3 separate regions of the Homo sapiens genome follow, and all the other regions are linked to region 1. The links are contacts of gene promoters, found by promoter capture Hi-C in human tissues and cell types (Jung and others, 2019). All regions are on one chromosome and are shown on one strand. The core of a region is centred on a gene start or on the middle of the fragment in contact, and the rest is flanking DNA. Distances in the headings are between cores, read along the strand shown. Region 1 holds the start of RSPO3 (R-spondin 3). Region 2 has its middle 79 kb from the start of TRMT11. Region 3 has its middle 130 kb from the start of TRMT11.

Region 1 (3,784 bases), core at 557-3,056:
TGGGCCTGGGCTGCACGCCGCGGAGGTGCGAGAGCCCAGAGCAGCAGCATCGCTTCCTGCCCCTCGCGAGCTCCAGGAGAAGTTTCCTCCTCCCTCTCTCCACCAGCGCCCCCAACCATAGAGCCAGGGTCGCCCCTGCTCTGAGATCTGCGAAAGGACTCCCCATGGGAACACAGACACTAGAGCAGCGAGGGCGCCAGGCTACCCTGGAGCGAGGAGAGGTGACACCTTCGCATCTGTCCCTTCATCTTGGGAAGATTCTACCTTTCAGACAGACCAACCCAGGTTGAGGCTGCCGTGGTGGTGTCCGCTTAATTCCAGCTAGGACACCGTCTTAAGAAGCCATCACAATCCAACCCTCCAAATAACAGCATTAAGGGCAGCGAGGAGGCGAATCTTTAGGGAGACCCCACTCTCTGTACGTGTGTGTCCCAGGGGACACACTTGAAAGGGCCAGAGATGGTACAGACGCTCACATGTGACAAGAGAGAACCTGGAAACTCCGCACCTCCGGCTCCCCACAGCTGGGGTTTTGCTGTCTTCAACCCTCGGGCGGGGGACGTCCGGCAGCTCTGCAAACGCGCAGACACGCGAACCCCATCGCCTCGCGCGCCCTTTGGCTCCGCTGGTGCGTGTCGGGGATGCGGCCGCGCAGGCGCTCGCTCCCTGGCTTCCTGGCCGGGTAGCGGGCGTTCGGCTACCGGAGTCCAGCCTAAGGGCCCAGCCGAGGTCTCCCCGCGCGAGGCGGTTGCGCTAGGTGAGCGGGTACCGCGGCCGCGCCTCCCTTGTCATTTACTCAGCGGTCAGAGGCATCCTGCGTCTGGGAGTCCCAAGTGCCTTCGGCTGGGTGCCCCTGTCCGATCCTCAAAAGGAAAGCACAAATCCCGGGTGCGAGTCTAACCCAGGACCGAACTTTCCCGCGAACCTGAAGTTACCATGGGGCGGGAGCCACCTTAGCGCCGCGTCCGCCCGCCCCTCGCACCGGCTAGGATGCTGCGGAAGGCAGGGGCGCCGAGAGGCAAGGGTGAAAGACGCCGTCCATACCCCCAAAGCCCGAACCTGCATCTCCTCTGCGAGGCGCAGGGCGGGAGGACCGCTGCAGTTGGGAGCCGGCTCCGGACAGGCAAAGCGACCCGACAGGTGAACGCGGCGGGAGGGAGCAAACGCGTAAAAAACCCTGCACTTACTTCTTCGCTGGCGCCTTCCCCGGGAGGCGTTTTGGCTGCCGATGTATTCCATAAAGTTCAAAATGATAAAAAGCCAAGAAATCAGTCGCAAGTGCATAGTAACCCAGTAATGCTTCCCTTCCTTTCTCCTCTTTCTTTTGATTGTTAATTATATTTAATGTTTTTAAAATATATGTAGGTGTTAGGCGTATATAGACAGTGCCCGAGCAGCGGGACTTCTCCTCTCACATCCGATAGGCGTGCTGTGATGGCAAGCGAAGTGGGGCGGGTGGACAGGGAAACCAACTATTGTACTTTCAAATTATCCAAGCACTGAACTGCGGCGGCTTCGCTGGGGTGGCTGGCATCGCCGCGAACCGGGGTTCCAGGAGCCGCCGGGGCGGCCGCAGGTAGCATGTTGTGCGGCAACTGCCGCAGGCGGGATCCGGGCGGGCGAGCGGCGGCGGCGGCGGCTGCAGCGGCGGCCCCTTGGGCTCAGAAGCTGCGGCGGCTGCGGCTGCAGCGGCGGGGGCCCCTGGAGCGCAGGGGAGCGGGCGCCGTCGGCACAGCGGCCATGGCCAAGGGGCGGCGGAGAGACCCCGAGCTGCTTCTGGCGTGCGCGAGCAGGAGACGCTCCAGTGTTGGGCTGGGCTCCCGGGAGCACCACATAGGGGAGGAGGAGGAGGAGGGCAGGGAGGGGGGAGGGAGAGGAGGGCAGGGAGGGGGAGAGGAGGGGGGATGGCTGTGGGGGGCGGGGGGGAGCTCGGGGGCGGGGAAGGAAACTGCTGGAGCAACAACCCTGAGCGACCTCAATAACTTTCAATTTCAAGAGGGAAAGAGGGAGCTGGAAAAGTACAGGCGTTGCGCTTTGGCAGAGGGACGGGAAGAGGCGCCTAAGGGGTCCCGGGTCTACAGCGCAGCATCTCTGGACACTGCAGTGACGGCCGGAGAATTCCAGCCAGAAGAATGGGGAAAGCAGTGCGTGCGAAGAGCCCCTCCAGAAGGGCAGCTCTGGCGGGGAGACTTGGGCGCACTGGGGCTGGCAGGCAGTGTTGAGGCCGAAGACCCCCCACCCATCCCAGTTCGGCTCCTCTCCGCGGCCTCAAGCTAGGCGCACCCGGCTGTCGGTGGCCGTGCGCCCCTGCGCCCTTGTGCCCCAGCGCCCCCACCCCATCCCCAGCGCCGGCGCGCAACTACCCTCTCCCCCTTGGCAGATCGCTGGAGAGTTTCTGGCTGCTGACTTGTTCCCGGCTTTCCTGACCTTCTCCTCTGTTGCCTTTCTCCCTTTTTCTTTTTCTCTCTCTTTCTTTCTTTCTTTCTTTCTTTCTTTCTTTCTTTCTTTCTTTCTTTCTTTCTTTCTTTCTTTCTTTCTTTCTCTTTCTTTCTTTTCTTTCTTTCTTCCTTCCTCTTTCTTTGTCTTTCTTTCTTTCTTTCCTTCCTTCCTTCCTTCCTTCCTTCCTTCCTTCCTTCCTTCTTCTTTCTTTCTTTCTTTCCTTTCTTTCTTTCTTTTCGGCTGCAGTTGGTCGCCAGGCGGGTGGTGGGGAGGAAACTCTGTGGGTGCTGCCGGTCAGCTACTCTGAGGTTTACCTGCTCCGAGCGGGGAGGACCCAGAAGTGTGTGCGCTCAGGACCTTCCCGTTGGAAATGCAGCTGTGCTACGGCTTTCTTCCAAACCAAGGCTTTTCTGTGGCTTTGGAAGATTCCTTTCCCGCTCAGGCAATTCCCTCTATAGTCAGCTCGCCCCCCTTGGAGTTTTCTCTCCCACCCTCGGTCTCCCAGTGTTCTTGAGAGGATCTGTTGTACATTCTAATCTCGCATCTGGAAGACTGGGAATAAGATTTGGAAAGATTTTCCCAGTCTTGGGGAAGGAAGGGGAAGGTCCACTACTTTCTTATCTTCCCAGCCCAAGTGGAGGCCCAAGGCAGCAGAGAGTAAGATGCTCTGGCCCACCCAGGGATGGGAGAACAGAGGGCCGGCACCCCTGAGTGGGGCACACCCTGGCTGTCGTTAGTAAATGGTGAGCTTTCCACGTCTTTTCTCCGGTAGCACCAGCCGATGAACTTTTCAGTAATTACTGAAGAAGTATTTAGTCGAAAGTCACAAGCCTCAAGTGATTTTAACATAAGCCTGCCCTATGTATTATATTTAACAGAATATCTGAAGGACTACACTAGCACTACAGGTTAACACAGCAGCAAACTTCTGGGAGGTCACTTTGAAAGAGTCCCTGATTCATAGGTGCTTTGCTAATTTTTGTGCTCAAATAATTCAGTGTAAGTCAATTGCTAAAGCCTTGCAGAGTAGCAAGTGACACTTGCACTTCTATCTCCTTCCTCCATTTGTAATCCCTATTACTGGATTGCCTTCAATTTATGTAAATTAGGTAAATTTACATGAATTAGAGCATTTTGTAAGTTTGCAATGCTGTGAATTGTATGTCTCTGGAGTCCTTTAGTGGTATATTTGTTATACATCCCAAAAGTAGGATAGAGGCGATAAAGTGGCCTGGATGCAAAAGGAAGGGAACTTGAAATATGCATTATTTTCAAGATGCTAAAAATTAGAATCTGAGAGATGGCCTTTTGATGTTAATTCTTTAATTAAATATCATTTATTATT
Region 2 (3,784 bases), core at 540-3,039, 1.1 Mb after region 1:
TTTTTGAGAAGGAGTCTCACTCTGTCGCCCAGGCTGGAGTGCAATGGCACAGTCTCGGCAGCAATTCTCCTGCCTCAGCCTCCTGAATAGCTGTGATTACAGGCGCACACCACCATAACTGGCTAACTTTTGTATTTTTATTAGAGACAGGGTTTCACCATGTTGGTCAGGCTGGTCTCAAACTCCTGACCTCATGATCCGCCTGCCTCGGCTTGGCCTACAGAAGTGCTGGGATTACAGGCGTGAGCCACTGTGCCCGGCCCTTATTTTTTTTTTTTTTTTAAGTCATGAATGAAGTTGGTCAGTTGCCCAGCATTGCAGCCATTAAGCAATTCACCCTTGTTTTTCACTGTGGCTAAAATCCAGACACCAATGTCCTGGCTGGCTGGGTGGATGGCACCCCCCAAGCCTCATCACTGATAAGCCATGTGACTTGTCCACTGCCCTGCCCTCAGGACAAGTGTAACAATTCACCTAGGGCTTACAAGCATCTCTAGGCAAAGGAATGGAGTATCCTGACTACAGGGTTATAACTCAGTCCGTGTTACAGACTATATAATTGTGTCTCCCCAAAATTTATGTTAAAACCCCAACCCCCAGTGGGATGGTTTCAGAGGTGGGGCTTTTGAGAGTTAAATGAGGTCATGAGGGTGGGGCCCCCATGATAGGATTAGCGTCCCTGTGAGAAGAGAAACAGGTTAGAGCTCCCTCTCCCATCTTCCCTCTCGACATACATACATGCACCAAGAAAGGCCATATGAGGACATAACAAAGAGCGCCCTTCCCAAGAACTCAGCCATGCTGGCATCCTGATCTTGGACGTCCAGCTTCTAGAACGGTAAGGAATGGGTATTTGTTGTTGATGTCACTTGGTCCATAGTATTCTGTTATGGCAGCCCAAACTGAGTGACAGTCCATGTAAGGCCACACCCAAAGGGCCTGGACTTGTGATTCACTCACAGCCAGGCCCAGACAGGATGAGTTCTGACCCCACAGGATCCAGCCACACCCTGGCCTGGAGGCAGAGGTCAGCTTTGGTCCTGGCGCTCAAAGTGAGTTTCTTCTAGAGGGTTTCCTTGCTCCCCTACTTTCACAATCCAGCCTTGATCATTGCTCCCTCCAACCGTCAAACAAAGGAAAGGGTCTGAACCCTAGTGCCTTTCCCTAAGAAGCCTCTGCTCCCATGCAAATGTAAATAGCTATGCAGGCACCGAGGATATTCCCATCTTTGTCTAGCAGCATTTGAGCTCCGGTTTTCTATAGTCTGAGCATCTGTCTCAGCAACGGTCCTTTTATGATCATGATAAATTCACGATAGGTACTATTATTTTCATTGTACACGTGAAGGACAACTTCAGTCTACAGTCATACCACCCTCAACGCTCCCAATCTCGTCTGAAGGACAACATCAGAGAAACAAAGCAACTTGCCCAAGAGTATACAGCTAAAGAATAGTAATAATATAATTTCTGTTATTATCTATTGAGTACTTGCTATGTATCAGGCACTGTTTTAAATACTTTGCAAGTATTCATTTTATAATTCTTCCCACAATCCTAGGAGACAAGTACTTCTATTATTCCCATTTCACAATTAAGAAAACTGAGGCACAGAGAAACTGTCATTTTCTCAAGATCATAATAATTAATGAATGAAGGAGTCAAGAAATGAACCAAGGTTGCTTAACCACAAACTTTAGCCAGCAGTTCCCCAGAATTAAAGTGTAGGTTATAAGGTTTTGAAGTTTGAAATCTCCAGATGTACCAAAAGCAGGTCACTACCAGTGAGTGAAACACGAAGAGGGTATCCTACATGCTGCCTGAAGGCGTGGCTCTCTGTGGTTGCCTCTCAGCCTGCAGGACTCAGCTCCCACTCCAGCCCTGCCTCGTCATCGTGGCAGGAGTTCTCCAGCAGTGGACACGTGATAGAAGAACAAGATTATTTGACCAATTATCTTCTCTCCTTTACACTACTCTAGCTAACATATTCCCTTTTTAGTAGGTAGACTTGTTGAACTATATACCTAACAATAAAAGAAAAAGTTTCATATTCAGTTCTCTGGTTTTTTAGCTCTCATTTTCATAGGCAAATGGTTCACGTTTTGTGAGTGAGATATTATCCGGTGGCTCTATACACTTCTGCTGATAAGGACTCAGCTGTGAATGGAAATGCTCCTAGACTCAAAGCAGGATCACCAACGCTGCCTGGGGGATCAGCTCACACATCTAAAGTAAAAGCAGTTTCTGTTCTAGTATTAAGTAATTACAGCTAATTATACTTTTTAATGATCCTTGCTCCACACCAGAAGGTTCTAACTAAACAAACATAAAACAAGGCTGCTAAACAAATGATTAAGATGTGGAACATAAAACAAAAACCACCTCTGGGTGGAACAAATTATCACAGATTTTTAAAGTAAACATTGACCTTAGGATAAATCTGCAGCCTAAGAGCTGTCTCCTTCCTTTTCAATGAATCTGGGCCTAACTTACATGATTTTTTTTGGCCTACAGAAACCCTGTGTCTGACCTGGTATTTGCACTTTATGGTTTGGGCGTTTTTATCTTGCCATAAATTGTCATGGTTATTAAATACAGTTTCAAAATTGTCTCTAATCTTTCGTGGTGACTTTTTTTTTTATCTTGGAGGCAAATTAATTTTTTCCTGTGAGACTGTCTTTCCAGTTCAGAATGCAAGTCAGTCAGGAAATGTGATCTAATAGCTCCTGCCTCACTTACCCTTACACAGCCTCAATCCAGGAGCCCAAGGCTCTTGGCTACCCCAGCAGCTGTGTATTACATTTATTTGAATCCTGTTTTGAGAATAGAAGGTACTAATCCTTCTGGAGCTGTTTACAAGTGCTTAAAGGGGTCCACAGAGCTGTGGTTTAATCCAGGGTATCGGTCATCTCACAGGCAGATTTTCAGAGACACGTGGGCTGCCCTCAGACACATCAGAGGTCAAGGGTCCCAAATTGTTGCATGTGCGCTTTCTCCCTCCACCCCATGCCCACCTTTGCTCATGAGTCAGAACCAACACTCAGAGCTCACCCCCATCTTCTCCCTCCCTCCCCCAGTGCTCACGACCCACCATTCTCCTAACTTCTCCTCACCAAAGGTTGCCAACCTCTAGCTCCTTCTAATCCACTGACTGAAGGAACCCTGCAATGGCAGCTTCAGAAATGTAAGATGCCAAATCATATTGCAGGACACAGCAACATCAGTGACATGGCCTTGCTCCTCCTGTGGTCCTTCCTCGGCCCACTTCCCTGTTTTGATCCAACATCCCATGCCTCACTCTTGCTCCTAGATCTCCGACCCCAGTCCCACTCTGATGACACATTCAAGCTTCAGACCCAGAAGGCTCGGATCCTCCCAGATTTCTACCCTGGGCTGTAAAAGCTTTTGCTCACCGATTGTTTATTTTTCCATGGCTCAGAGTGATTTACAAAGTCATTAGGAATGACAACTTCTGTCTAGAGACCCTTGCCTCTCAAAGCATGGCCCATGAATCAGCAGCAGCTGGCTTCACCTCCAAGCATGATGGAAACAGAGAATCTCAGGCTTCACCTCAGACCCATCTGTAATTTCACAAGATCCCCAGGGGATTCGTCTGCACATTAACATTTGAGAAGCTCTGGTCTAGAAAGCAGAAATGTCTGTTGTAACACAAAGTTTAATTTATCCTTTTAGAAAAAAATCTCCAACTGTAAGATCTCTTCACAAAATCAAACAGAACTGTTACAGAAACGTTTTCTTAATTTAAGTTCCATTGAATTTGGTTA
Region 3 (3,784 bases), core at 339-2,838, 1.0 Mb after region 1:
AAATCACTTTTTGAGGCTCCACTCTGTAAGTTCTGTGGGGGCAGAGATATATCTATATAGATCATCACTGTATCCCACGTGCCTAGTAGATTGGCTGACACACAATCAGTGCTCAGTAAATGTAGAATTGATTCATTGAGTAGATGGATGAAGGAATGAATAAATTCCAGTTAGGCTATAGAATCAACTCAGTCTCTCATGTATATGCTAAAGTACAAGTATCACTGTTGGTGAGAAAGGTGAGTCAGATCAGGAACTCACTCCACTGCCTCAACCACTAATGTAGAGGCAGGCAACTCAAGAATTCTTAATAAATAGAAACATATTTGCTCACAAATTAAACTAGCCTCCTATATTGGTTTTTGATTTATAAATAGAAAGACCATACAGTTTATCATCCACATAGAGACTCCAAGATTAAAAGAGGGCCCTGTTAATAAATCAGACTGCCTGGACATGCAGAGACATACAGGTACTCTAGAAGCAGTCAAAATACTACAGCTTCAGGTCAATATGGGGGAACATAACGCCCCTCAAACCACTTTGTTTATACTTTAGTGATAGCACTTAGCACATTGTATCATGGTTGTTTGCTTAATGCCTAGGTTCCCAAATGCAATGTGAGTACCTGAAGGCCAGGGAGGGAGTTCACCTCTATGTCTCCAGTGTCATCTAGGACCTGTCCACTCAGATGCAAAAAGGTCTATTGAACAGATTTGGTGGTCTAGAAACACACAACCTACCTTAGTAATAGGTTATCTTGACTGTAGCCAACATAGAAAACCAGAAGACATTGGGATAAACTGATTCAAGGAGACTTGGTTTCTTTTCCCTATAATAAAAAAAGAATACTAAAACTCTGATTTCATGAAAAAAAAAATCTCAGTAACAGTCAATGACTGAAAGAAAGACAATGAAGTAGAGGAACATAGGCAACTAACGATCTGTAGGGGATTTGTGGTAGAAATGACAGATGAGAGAATGCCAAGAAACAGGATCTAGACAGAGTTAGCTAGCAGCCAAGCAAAAATGCAGGATAATTAATAAGTTTCACATTTTCAGAATTGGTTAATTGTGCACCCAGAGATTGTTATTACTACAACCGATCATTGCAGATGGCAAGGCCAGGCTATCTGTAACTTATCCTACAGCCAAAATATCTTGGAGGTACTCCTGACTGGCATCTAGCCAAACTGTGTCAGTTGAAGGAAGCTTCATATCTCTACCATGTCAGAATGGAACCAACTGCCTTTTGAGATAAAACAGCATTCAAATAGAAAACCCTTCAAAAAAGAAAAGACAGAAATAATTTATGGATCCAAAGATCCAAACAGTTGATGTAACCACAGGAATTATTTCTCAGATCTACAGGGACTGAACCATTCCTAGTAGATGTTAGCACAGTGTTGCTGACTGAGTTGGGAGTTTATGCAGGCTCAGTGCTGAATCCAGAGACGTGAATCACTGAACAAATAGCTCAGGTTCTCTAATGGGCAGGTGGTGGCACCAGTTCACTAACCAGAAAGAGATGGGAAGGAGGGTTAAAGCTGAGCTAATAGTAGCTCCCTTAAGACAGCAAATCTTCTGCAGAATATACTCCAGTTTGGGCTTCTTATTCTGGATTTTGAGCTGAATGGTCTGTGTGTCATCTTTTATGCCTTCTCAGCTTAGTTCTTAGGAGTTTAGAAGAGACAGAAATGGAGTAGAAAGAAACTAAGACCATCATTCAGTAATAACTTACCTTACGGCAAGTGCCATATTGTATCACCTCATTTAAGATTCAGAGCCACACTAGAAATTAGGCATCATATACCCAATTTATATACAGTAAGCCAAGAGGCAGAGAAGTTACTTACAGAGAAGGCAAAGAAGATTTCATGTAAGTGGGAAGTTATTGTGCCAGGCATCTGAACTTAGGTCTCTCTGACCCCAAAACTCCATTTGAAATTTCCCCATAGAGTCAGTGGCTCTACTGGGAAAGCCCTACTCACTCCATTCCGCCTTGGAATGATGTGCCCTTCAAACCCAGATGGTACATGTCCTGTGTGAACTGCAGAAATAATACGTGAGTACCCTGGAAACCTGCAGTTTATTATTTCTGTCTTACACTTAAAACACATGGTGGCCACAGTAGTTGGAAACAAATAAGAGGTGATCTGGTGCTGGGAAAGTGAGTAACCATGTAATTAGCAAAGCTAATGTTGTGCAGTTTCCATAAATAACATGCTGTTTACTTTTGTTATTAAGAGACTTTTAATATTAAAAAGTGTGGGGGGTGTCTAAGGTAGACAAGAAAGATGATATCAGGCACCTGGCAAAGGAGGGAAAAAACTTACTCTGAGAAACTATCTCTTCATTGTTTAATGTTCTTTACATCCTTAAAAATAATCCCCTCAGTTTTCCTTGCAGCTTGAGAACTTGATTATTTGTTGCATTGGTTATGAGAGTGGTAGAGTGAGACTTCCACCTGAAAATTTGCCTACAGAGAAGACAGCTTGTTATTATTATCCAAGACAGGGAGTCTCCTCATCAAGATTCCACCCCATGGGGTCTGAGCCATGGCAGAAGAGGATTAAAGTGTTAGATCATGCAGCACAAGCAGTCCCTCCCAGGGTTCTTGGAAATGGCTGCAAACCATCTCTAATCTAGACATTTAAGTCTCCTCCCATATCCTTCATTCCTAACTGCCTGGGTCAAACTCATTTTCTCCTTACCTAATTTTTCTGAAAATGCATTATTCAATATTTCTGTTTTGGAAGTATTCTCATCTTTTTCCATTTTGTGGCTTTGCTATCTAATTTCAAACATAAATCCACTAAGTAGAGTTGACATCTAGTTCCAGGGTCTGTCCAGGGGACTATAGGCATGCAATAAATGTTAAATCATGATGACAATAGATACAAATAGCAATGTGATCACAGTGAAACACTTCATTTTCCTAGTTGCATGAACTCTACAAAGCTTTGACCCCAAAACAGCTTTGTATGCACGTGTGTGTGCACGCACATGCACACACACACACGCACATGTTTCTATGGTTTCTGTTACCATAGGAAGCATTTCCATTCTGCTCCATTGTACGTTTATACAACACCTCATTGCTATTGCTATGGTATCCAGAAACATTGCTTAAATTAAATGAATAGAAAACATCAGGGAAGAAGAAAGGGATTAAAATACAGACAGTTGAAAGAGAACAGAATAACAGAGGGTAAGAATGGGTGATGATTTTTAGAAGCAATTATTTTCTAATGTAATTTTATTCTGGTACATTTCTTTTTGAATACATATTTCACTGAGCATTCTGATTCTCTTCATCCATGTAAAAGCAACTTGGAGGTATGGAAAAGAGACCATATTTCTCAGTCTTAAGATATTCCTGGGAAGGATATGGAGCCCAGGCCAAATCATCCTATGTGTTTCTCAGCACTGCCCAAGTGATGTATAGTTGAAGAATAACCTTGAAAGCAAGAAATTTTCATTAAATGCCCCCCAAAAAAGCCAATAATAATGCCTCCATAGCAGATAAGGTGGGTACAACTGCTATTGCTGATTGCACAGTTGCTGATTAAGAGTCTCAGGTCTTTAGCAGCATCAGCTGATCATGCCATCAAGCTCAGTCCACACACTGTGCCCTGCTTCTCCGCCAGCTGAAATCTTCTGATTCTCTTCCTCAGTCTCTCAGACCCAGCCAGATTTGAGGCTAAAAGTTTAACTAGCTTTCTAGCCCCATCCTTGGTGCCTTCTTCAAGTCATGCTTGGTGCCAACCCAGACCTGGTCTTG

The links. Contacts are between HindIII fragments. The study calls those that stand out against the background at their distance.
Region 2: a fragment that was not itself captured here is called in contact with the fragment with the promoter of RSPO3 in region 1 in 1 of the 25 tissues and cell types used here (mesendoderm cells).
Region 3: a contact is called between a fragment that was not itself captured here and the fragment with the promoter of RSPO3 in region 1, in 1 of the 25 tissues and cell types used here (H1 embryonic stem cells).

The regions. Positions count from the first base shown.
Region 1 is chr6:127,116,693-127,120,476 of GRCh38, reverse strand. It overlaps RSPO3 (R-spondin 3), which reads right to left and starts at 1,806. Exons shown (of 5, transcript NM_032784.5): 1 at 1,188-1,806. The coding sequence starts at 1,284. LOC105377989 (a long non-coding RNA gene) reads left to right here. Exons shown (of 14, transcript XR_002956387.2): 4 at 1-1,576. The HindIII fragment of the contact is 6,946 bases long and covers 1-3,784 here.
Region 2 is chr6:126,063,421-126,067,204 of GRCh38, reverse strand. It overlaps a transcript of TRMT11 not described here. Among named protein-coding and RNA genes, the nearest start is that of TRMT11, 79 kb to the right of the region's middle. The HindIII fragment of the contact is 7,363 bases long and covers 1-3,784 here.
Region 3 is chr6:126,109,914-126,113,697 of GRCh38, reverse strand. It overlaps a transcript of TRMT11 not described here. Among named protein-coding and RNA genes, the nearest start is that of TRMT11, 130 kb to the right of the region's middle. The HindIII fragment of the contact is 3,828 bases long and covers 1-3,502 here.